3 separate regions of the Homo sapiens genome follow, and regions 2 and 3 are each linked to region 1. The links are contacts of gene promoters, found by promoter capture Hi-C in blood cells and fetal thymus (Javierre and others, 2016). All regions are on one chromosome and are shown on one strand. Each heading gives the region's core, a stretch centred on a gene start or on the middle of the fragment in contact. The rest is flanking DNA. Distances are from core to core; before and after follow the strand shown. Region 1 holds the start of SIGLEC14 (sialic acid binding Ig like lectin 14). Region 2 overlaps VSIG10L (V-set and immunoglobulin domain containing 10 like). Region 3 overlaps ETFB (electron transfer flavoprotein subunit beta).

Region 1 (3,041 bases), core at 1-2,500:
TGGAGTGCAGTGGTGCGATCTCGGCTCACTGCAAGCTCCACCTCCCGGGTTACGCCGTCCTCCTGCCTCAGCCCCCCCAGTAGCTGGGACTACAGGCGCCCGCCACCACGCCCGGCTAATTTTTTGTATTTTTAGTAGAGACGGGGTTTCACCATGTTAGCCAGGACGGTCTTGATCTCCTGACCTCGTGATCCACCCGCCTCGGTCTCCCAAAGTGCTGGGATTACAGGCGTGAGCCACTGCGCCCGGCCTTCTTTTTTTACTGTTCTTCGTGGAGCAGGGGTATGCATAAGCAGTGTGCCCAGAGGAGCCCCCACTAGGATTTTTGACTTACCTTCTCATCCTAAGAGTTTATCCTTTGCTGTATCTCCAGCTCCTAAAACAGGGGGCCTGGTGCACCATAGGCGCCCATGAAGCATCAGTTGAATGAGTGAATTCTCGGGGCCAGACACTGTCCTAAGCACTTTACACATGAGACCTCACTGAATCCCCACACAGCAATTCTATTATTGTCTGCATTTTTCAGCTGAGCAAACTGAGGCACAGAGAGGGTAGGTAACTTTTGTAAAGTTCAACAGCCGGTAGGTGAGGGGTCTGGGTTCACACTTGGTATTCCATATCCTCAACGTTCACATTTCAAATGCCCGGCTCTCAAGCCTCATCTGGCTGTCAACATCAGGGATGGGGTCTGACGCTGCCTGGGACAAGGACAAGGATGAGATGAGGTTCCCAAATCCAACTGGTGGTGGGGACCACATCTCTCTTGACTGCTAAGGACCCGGTCATGTCCACCTGATGTGTTTGTCCCTGACAACTTGCCTTCCCTCTGGAAAGAGGAAAGTCTTCCCCACCTGAAACCCCCAGCGTGTGCTTCCCTCACCACAGCTCCTATCATGTCATAAAGGATTTATTCTCCCATCTCGCTGAGGGTCCCGAGGCCCTGACTCCCAGGGAGCTGGCCAAGTGGTGTTCTCCTTCCTATGTAGACAAAGGTGCATAAGGAAAGTGCTGCAGCTATGGGACCTGGTGACCTCAGGAGTCTAGACTTACAAGTCTGGACAAGCCCCTCTGGGGGCCTCAGTATCTTCACCATCGGCGTCCAGTGGGGGTGGGAGCAGAATGGCTTCCCAGCCCCAGCCTCACCCCAACAGCACGTGATGCCCAAGTTCCCCTTCTGTGCGCGTCCACAGCTCTCACTCACCCTCCGGCTTCCTGTCGGGGCTTTCTCAGCCCCACCCCACGTTTGGACATTTGGAGCATTTCCTTCCCTGACAGCCGGACCTGGGACTGGGCTGGGGCCCTGGCGGATGGAGACATGCTGCCCCTGCTGCTGCTGCCCCTGCTGTGGGGGGGTGAGTGAGCTGAGGGAGGAGGGACAGGCACAGGGGTGAGAAGGGGGGCTGGAGCTGCAGCTGAGCTTCTGTGTCCCCCCAGGGTCCCTGCAGGAGAAGCCAGTGTACGAGCTGCAAGTGCAGAAGTCGGTGACGGTGCAGGAGGGCCTGTGCGTCCTTGTGCCCTGCTCCTTCTCTTACCCCTGGAGATCCTGGTATTCCTCTCCCCCACTCTACGTCTACTGGTTCCGGGACGGGGAGATCCCATACTACGCTGAGGTTGTGGCCACAAACAACCCAGACAGAAGAGTGAAGCCAGAGACCCAGGGCCGATTCCGCCTCCTTGGGGATGTCCAGAAGAAGAACTGCTCCCTGAGCATCGGAGATGCCAGAATGGAGGACACGGGAAGCTATTTCTTCCGCGTGGAGAGAGGAAGGGATGTAAAATATAGCTACCAACAGAATAAGCTGAACTTGGAGGTGACAGGTATGGCAGGAACCCTAGGAGAGGACCCTGGGACGTGGAGACCCCCGTATGAGAACAGGGACAGGAGTTGGGCAGGGGCGGCTGGAGGAGGTGTAGGACTTGGGGCAGGTCGGGGCCTGAGGCCTGGCCACTCTCGGGGTCACACCTTACGTCCTCAAGCCCCTGGGGCCCAGGTATCTCCCTGTCTCCTCCTCAGCCCTGATAGAGAAACCCGACATCCACTTTCTGGAGCCTCTGGAGTCCGGCCGCCCCACAAGGCTGAGCTGCAGCCTTCCAGGATCCTGTGAAGCGGGACCACCTCTCACATTCTCCTGGACGGGGAATGCCCTCAGCCCCCTGGACCCCGAGACCACCCGCTCCTCGGAGCTCACCCTCACCCCCAGGCCCGAGGACCATGGCACCAACCTCACCTGTCAGGTGAAACGCCAAGGAGCTCAGGTGACCACGGAGAGAACTGTCCAGCTCAATGTCTCCTGTGAGTGGTGCTGGGGACACAGCTGAGTCCCCAAGGGCAGTGGGAGTGAGGGGGGTGTGTGTGTGTGTGTGTGTGTGTGTGTAGAAGAGAGAGAGAGAAAGAGAATGATAACCAGGGAAAACTCGTGTGTGGGCAGGAAGGACAGCGGTCCCCACCTGGTGGGTTTCTGTGGCCCCTCCTTGGGTCCCTCCCGGGACCACGCCCATCCCTCTTGTCACCTCTGAAGCTGGTGCTGTATCTTTCTATCCCAGATGCTCCACAGAACCTCGCCATCAGCATCTTCTTCAGAAATGGCACAGGCACAGGTAGGAAAGACCCTCTTCCCTCTGGGGCTGTGATGGGAGCCTTCTATTAGCTCAGGGTTCAGCATTGGGAGAGGAGACCCTCCCTCACCCCTCAGCCCCTGGGTCTGGGTCCTTCCTGCTCCCAACCCCCCAATCCCAGTCACTAAGATCTTGCACGAACAGACCTAGTATTTCTTTTGGCTTCTCCCTTTTCTCTGCTCTCTTTTTCAGATTTATTTTTTCATTGTGAGAAAATACACATAGCACAAAATTTGTCATCTTAGCCATTTTAAAGAGTACAGTTCAGCAGTGTTAAATGTGTTCACATTGTTGCAAAACCAAACTGCAGAGCTCCTTTTATCTGGCAAAACTGAAACTTTGTACCCACTGAACAGCGACTTTCCACTTCCCCCTCCTGCCACCGAGCAGTCACCATTCTACTTTTCTGTCTCTGTGAGTTTGAG
Region 2 (3,041 bases), core at 181-2,680, 310 kb after region 1:
CTCGGGACAATCTGTGATTATCTTATGTATTGCTCATTTATTTATGTCTTCTCTCCTAGAATTAAGCCCCATAAGGGTAGATATCTTTCCTGTTTGGCCCACGAATGAATCCTCACTACCTGTCTGAGAGCCAGGCACACCACGGTCACTCAGTAACTGTTAAATGAGTTGAGAGTGCTGGGGTCCCACATTCCTGGGTTCTGGGAGGGGAGGGACAGTGGGGGCCGGACTCCTGGGTCCCAGCACAAAGTTAGGGGGCTTAGGAAACTTGGGTCCAACCTTGGTTCCTGTTCCCCTTCTCTTTCTTCTCTTTGTCTCTTCCAGGCCCCACGTTGAGCCATGGGGCCATCGCTGGCATCGTCCTGGGCTCCCTGCTGGGCCTGGCGCTGCTAGCCGTACTTCTCCTCCTTTGCATCTGCTGCCTGTGCCGCTTTCGTGGTGAGCAAGGGGACTGGGGAAGGGGCAACCATGACCAACGGGGAGGGACCCTAGAAAGAGGCCTATGGAAGACCTGGCTGAGGCAATCAGTGCCGTCATAGGTCATCCATCCTGCCCTCCTACCTCCAAATCAGCCAATCAGCATAAGGCTCCGCCTCTCCAACCAGCTTCCCTTGCTATTGGCTGGGTTGGCATGTTGGGGCAGCCAATCACGTGTTCCTGCTTCTCTTCTGCCTCTCAATCAGGAAAGACTCCTGAGAAAAAGAAGCATCCTTCTACCTTGGTCCCCGTGGTCACCCCCTCAGAAAAGAAGATGCATAGTGTGACCCCAGTGGAGATTTCATGGCCTCTGGACCTCAAAGTCCCTCTGGAGGACCACAGCTCAACTAGGGCCTACCAAGTGAGTGTGGGTGCCCTCATTTCCTCCTGGAATCGGGGCGGAACTTCTTGTATTACAGTCAGGGAGATGAGAGGGTCTCAATTATCTAACTCCAGTTTTACTTGTTAGTTTACAGTCTGTATAACTTTATCCTTTTTAAAAATGCATCAAAGTTGGACAGAGCTTCCCGCCCAACTTTGATGTATATTAAAATAAGAGTGAATTCCAGTTTCTTCTCCAAAGGAGGGAAATAGGATCTCTCTCTCTCTTTTTTTTTTTTTTGGAGACAGAGTCTCACTTTGTTGCCCAGGTTGGACTGCAGTGGTGCAATCTCGACTCACTGCAGCCTCCGCCTCCTGGGTTCAAGCGATTTTCCTGCCTCAGCCACTTGAGTAGCTGGGATTACAGGCAAGCACCACAACGCCTGACTGATTTTTGTATTTTTAGTACAGACGGGATTTCACCATGTTAGGCAGGCTGGTCCCGAACTCCTAACCTCAAGTGATCCGCCCACCTTGGCCTCCCAAAGTGCTGGGATTACAGGCATGAGCCACTACGCCCAGCCCCTCCATTTTTCTTTCCCATAAAAATTGGGCAAGGCCCATTTTTCTCTATGAAGTGGGGTACAGTTACCTCATTCCCCATAAAAGAAGGATTGTTGTGACTGGGTGTGATAGTTCATGCCTGTAATCCCAGCACTTCGGGTGGTTGAGGAGAGAGAATCACTTGAGCTCAGGAGTTCGATACCAGCTTGGGCAACATAGGGATACCCCATCTCTACAAAAAATTTTAAAATTAGTCGGGCATGGTGGCACGTACCTGTAGTCCCAGCTACTAGGGAGGCTGAGGTGGGAGGATTGCTTGGGCCTGGGAGGTCAAGGCTGCAGTGAGCTCTAACGGTGCCACTGTACTCTAGCCTGGATGACAGAGTGAGACCCTGTCTCAAAATAAATAAATAAATAAATAAATAAAAAATAACAACTGGGTTGGGTTGTTGGCTGGCTTCGCTCCACCAAGGATAGCCAGGCATTTTTTTTCCCCTCTCCAAATGGAGGGTTCCCAGATAATCTCTAAAAAGTTCAAGCAAGAGCTAGAAAAAGTTAGGCGGGTGAGTTATGTCACATCCAGAGTACCTACTGAGTTCTCCCCTCACCCCACCTCTCTCTTCCAGGCACAGACCCCAGTTCAGTTGTCTCTGTAGGCGGAGGCTCAAAGACTGTTCGCGCAGCCACACAGGTGTGATCAGAGCCAGTGGTCTGCCCTGCACAGGGCGTTTTGGGCCAGAACTTCCTATTTCACTCCAGCAGCAGCCAGGGCCTGCTATGACTGAGGGTTGGACCCTGAAAGTGGGACTTTCTGTCTCCCTCTCTTGCTGCAGAAGAAGAGTCTTCCTGTATTTGTGCAAGTAAGGAGATGTGACTTCTTGGCTGGGAAACTCTTGCTGATCTAACTGTGTGGTTTGCACAACCTCCAAGCCTCTGCAGCAGACAGGCAGGGCTTGCTGTGTTGCTCTGAGCTAGAGAGGGAGCTTGGCCATGTTCTCTGAAAAGGTCCCCTTACATTCACTTTGCCACCTGTAGGCCACACCCCATCCAGCTCCCAGCATCTTCATCTTAAAACAGATCAGATCATGTCACTCTTCTCTTTAAACGCTTCTACGGCCTGTGCATTTCCCTTCAGATATTATCCAAACTCATCGTCGTGACCTTCAAAACCTTGTGGTCTGGCCTCTGTTGGCCTCCCTGACCTCCCCTCCCAATTCTTTCTCTGCCCCCGGACTCCAGTATCACAGTCTGTCTCTCAGCCACAATTTATTTTGCCCCTAGAGTTTGCTGTGCTTATAACACTTCTTTTTCCCATATGTCATTCATTTCTCAAGTCTAAGAGTAGCAGTTACCATCTTAGACGACCGTTCCCTTACCCCTCCCTTAGTCTTGGGTTAAGTCCCAGAATCCTTGAATTTGCCGTTCCTGATACATAAATATGTAATTTCTTGTGTGGCCTGAGACTCTCTCTCTAAACTAAGGGCTTTACAAAAGCAGAGACCACATCATTAACTCAGCACTTAACCCAGAGCCTCACACACAGCAGGCAATCAATAAATATTTGTTGACTGATCAAATGTTTTGGTGCCAGTGAAGAGTTGGGCTTGCTGCTGCTGTCTTCAGCGTAAGTCTTGCTTTTTCAGCTGGGTTTCTAATTGAGAATTTAGAGAGTGCATTGG
Region 3 (3,041 bases), core at 1-2,500, 290 kb after region 1:
CACTCCATGAACCCCTTCTGTGAGATCGCGGTGGAGGAGGCTGTGCGGCTCAAGGAGAAGAAGCTGGTGAAGGAGGTCATCGCCGTCAGCTGTGGGCCTGCACAGTGCCAGGTGATGAAGGTCTTGGGGAGGGGGCTGGACTCCTGGGTCTGACGGAGGAGGGGCTGGGACCTGGACTCCTGGGTCTGAGGGAGGAGGAGGCTGGAAGTCTGGACCCCTGGGTCTGAGGGAGGATGGGCTGATAGCCTGGATTCCTGGGTCTGAGGAAGAAGGGGATGGGGGCCTGGACTCCTGGGTCTGAGGAAGGAGGGGCTGGGGGCCTGGACTCTTGGGTCTGAGGAAGGAGGGGATGGGGCCCTGGACTCCTGGGTCTGAGGAAGAAGGGGATGGGGGCCTGGATTCCTGGGTCTGAGGAAGGAGGGGATGGGGCCCTGGACTCCTGGGTCTGAGGAAGGAGGGGCTGGGACCTGGACTCCTGGGTCTGAGGGAGGAGGAGGCTGGAAGTCTGGACCCCTGGGTCTGAGGGAGGATGGGCTGATAGCCTGGATTCCTGGGTCTGAGGAAGGAGGGGATGGGGGCCTGGACTCCTGGGTCTGAAGAAGGAGGGGATGGGGGCCCGGACTCCTGGGTCTGAGGAAGGAGGGGATGGGGGCCCGGACTCCTGGGTCTGAGGAAGGAGGGGATGGGGGCCCGGACTCCTGGGTCTGAGGAAGGAGGGGATGGGGGCCCGGACTCCTGGGTCTGAGGAAGGAGGGGATGGGGGCCCGGACTCCTGGGTCTGAGGAAGGAGGGGATGGGGGCCCGGACTCCTGGGTCTGAGGAAGGAGGGGATGGGGGCCTGGACTCCTGGGTCTGAGGAAGGAGGGGATGGGGCCCTGGACTCCTGGGTCTGAGGAAGGAGGGGCTGCGAGCCAGACTCCTAGGTCCCCCTGAGGATAGCAGCCAAGTCAAGCCCCTCTGTCCTTGGCAGGAGACGATTCGTACCGCCCTGGCCATGGGTGCAGACCGAGGTATCCACGTGGAGGTGCCCCCAGCAGAAGCAGAACGCTTGGGTCCCCTGCAGGTGGCTCGGGTCCTGGCCAAGCTGGCAGAGAAGGAGAAGGTGGACCTGGTGCTGCTGGGCAAACAGGTAGCTGTGGTCAGCCCTCCCTGTGCCCCCTTGCTCATCCCTGCTCGGGAGGAGGGTGGTGGAGATACGGGGTGAGACAGCAGCTGGCCAGGCCCAGGGCATTCACCACTCCAGGCTGAGCAGCTTGGGACTTTGCTGACCCTTCTGACAGAGAGTTTGAGCAGGGAGGACAGAGTCCCTCTGGGTGTTAGAAAGATCCTCTTGGGCCAGGCACGGTGGTTTACGCCTGTAATCTCAGCACTTTGGGAGGCCGAGGCCAGTGGATCACTTGAGGTCGAGAGTTTGAGATTAGCGTGGCCAACATGGTGAAACCCCATCTCTTCTAAAAATATAAAAATTAGCCGGGTGTGGTATCACCTGCCTGTAATCCCAGCTACTTGGGAGGCTGAGGCATGAGAATCACTGGAACCTGGGAGGCGGAGGTTGCAGTGATACAAGATCGCACCACTGCACTCCAGGCACCACTGCACTCCTGCCTGGGAGCAGAGCGAGACTCTGTCTCAAAAAGAAAAAAAGAAGAAAGATCCTTTTGGGTGAGTTTAGAGGCTGGGAGGCCGAGGTGATGGTCACATGGGGGAGAATGAGGCCTCAGCCAAAGGTGACAGGACAGAGCAGAGACATGATGTGGCAGGAGAGACTGGGCTTAGCATGGGGAGGGAGGGCAGGGAGGAGGCAAGGACAGTGCCTGGGTCTGCCTTGGTAACACAGGTAGGAAACCCAGGAAGAACAGGAGGTTAGAGGAGGATCCTACAAGGGGAGTGTGAAGAGCCCAGGAGACATCGATGCAGGTTCAGGAGACAGGCCTGGGCTTGAAACAAAGACTTGAGAATTTTGGAGGGCACTGGGGAGCTATGGGAGTTCTATGAGCAGAAGAGGGGTGGGATCAGCACTAGGTGCAGAAAGAGCCCCCCTGGGCTTTGAGAATGGACTGGAATGGGAAATTGGAGGCCAGGAGTTAGGGAAGGAGGTTAGGGCTGGGTGAGGACCCGACCAGAACCTTCCCTGCCACACTGGTGCTCCCCACTGAGATAGGGGTACATGGAGCTCATCTGTTCCCCCAGGAGACCCTCGGGCACCACCTCTGCTCAGGGGTAGCTCATCTCATTTGAGGGCAAACCTCATGGCCTCAACCAGGGAAGGGGCAGAAGAGGGACGTCAGAAGAGCCACAGGCAGATGGGAGTGAGAAGAGGCAGGGAATTAGGGATGAGGCTGAGAAGGAAGGCCAAAGACTGCAAGGTATGTCAAGCAGAGCACGGAGACAGCAGAGCACAGCAGGCTCAGGTAGAGCTGGGGCCCCCGGAGAGAGATGGGGATCCCAGGGCCAGGTCAGTTCTGGGACAAAGAGGAGGCTGATGGGTCCAGGTAGGTCACTGGGTGTCCTGCCCAGCCCTGAGAAAGTCAGAAGAAAACAGAGAGAGATTATCAACAGCAGGGGCATCAGAGTACAGATCAGTCAACTGTGGCCGAAGGGCCTACCCGGAGAACAGGCCAAAAAGGCAGGGCCTGGGTGGGGCTGCAGAGGCCGAGGTGCTGGAAGCATGGCCTTTGCAGCCCCCTGCATTTGCTGGTCGTTCTCAGACTCCGATGTCCTACCTGTCCTGGGCCAGGGACAGTTCCTGGGGCCAGGGCCTCCAGCTGGGGAAATGCCGGATGAACTGGTCAGGATGCTGTTTGTTCTAGGAAGCAGATTCACAACTCAAACTGGCTTAAGCCAGAAAGCGAATTTATTATCTCACGTAAATCAGGGGCTTCAGGCACAGCTTGATCCAGGGTCACATATGAGCTGTAGGCTCCCCTCTACCTTGTCTTCACTGTCTGCATCTCCAGGCTCAGATCCCACCAGCCCAGTGACCCCAGCAGAAAGAAAGGAGCATCTTTCCCAAGGGCCCCAGCAAACTCCCAGGGCTGACT

Evidence for each region. The method cuts DNA at HindIII sites, captures the fragments that hold promoters and counts their contacts. A CHiCAGO score of 5 or more calls a contact.
Region 2: a contact is called between a fragment that was not itself captured here and the fragment with the promoter of SIGLEC14 in region 1, in 12 of 17 cell types (naive B cells, megakaryocytes, activated CD4 T cells and 9 more). The highest score is 15.4, in naive B cells.
Region 3: a fragment that was not itself captured here is called in contact with the fragment with the promoter of SIGLEC14 in region 1 in 6 of 17 cell types (total B cells, megakaryocytes, naive B cells and 3 more); the score reaches 12.1 in total B cells.

The regions. Positions count from the first base shown.
Region 1 is chr19:51,645,034-51,648,074 of GRCh38, reverse strand. SIGLEC14 (sialic acid binding Ig like lectin 14) reads left to right here and starts at 1,250. Exons shown (of 7, transcript NM_001098612.3): 1 at 1,250-1,352; 2 at 1,435-1,818; 3 at 2,015-2,293; 4 at 2,545-2,598. The coding sequence starts at 1,316. The HindIII fragment of the contact is 8,795 bases long and covers 1-3,041 here.
Region 2 is chr19:51,331,588-51,334,628 of GRCh38, reverse strand. VSIG10L (V-set and immunoglobulin domain containing 10 like) reads left to right here. Exons shown (of 10, transcript NM_001163922.3): 8 at 325-438; 9 at 684-838; 10 at 1,989-3,041. The coding sequence ends at 2,018. Among named protein-coding and RNA genes, the nearest start is that of VSIG10L-AS1, 6.9 kb to the left of the region's middle. The HindIII fragment of the contact is 3,891 bases long and covers 1-3,041 here.
Region 3 is chr19:51,351,220-51,354,260 of GRCh38, reverse strand. It overlaps ETFB (electron transfer flavoprotein subunit beta), which reads left to right. Exons shown (of 6, transcript NM_001985.3): 2 at 1-111; 3 at 971-1,129. Among named protein-coding and RNA genes, the nearest start is that of VSIG10L, 11 kb to the right of the region's middle. The HindIII fragment of the contact is 4,167 bases long and covers 1-3,041 here.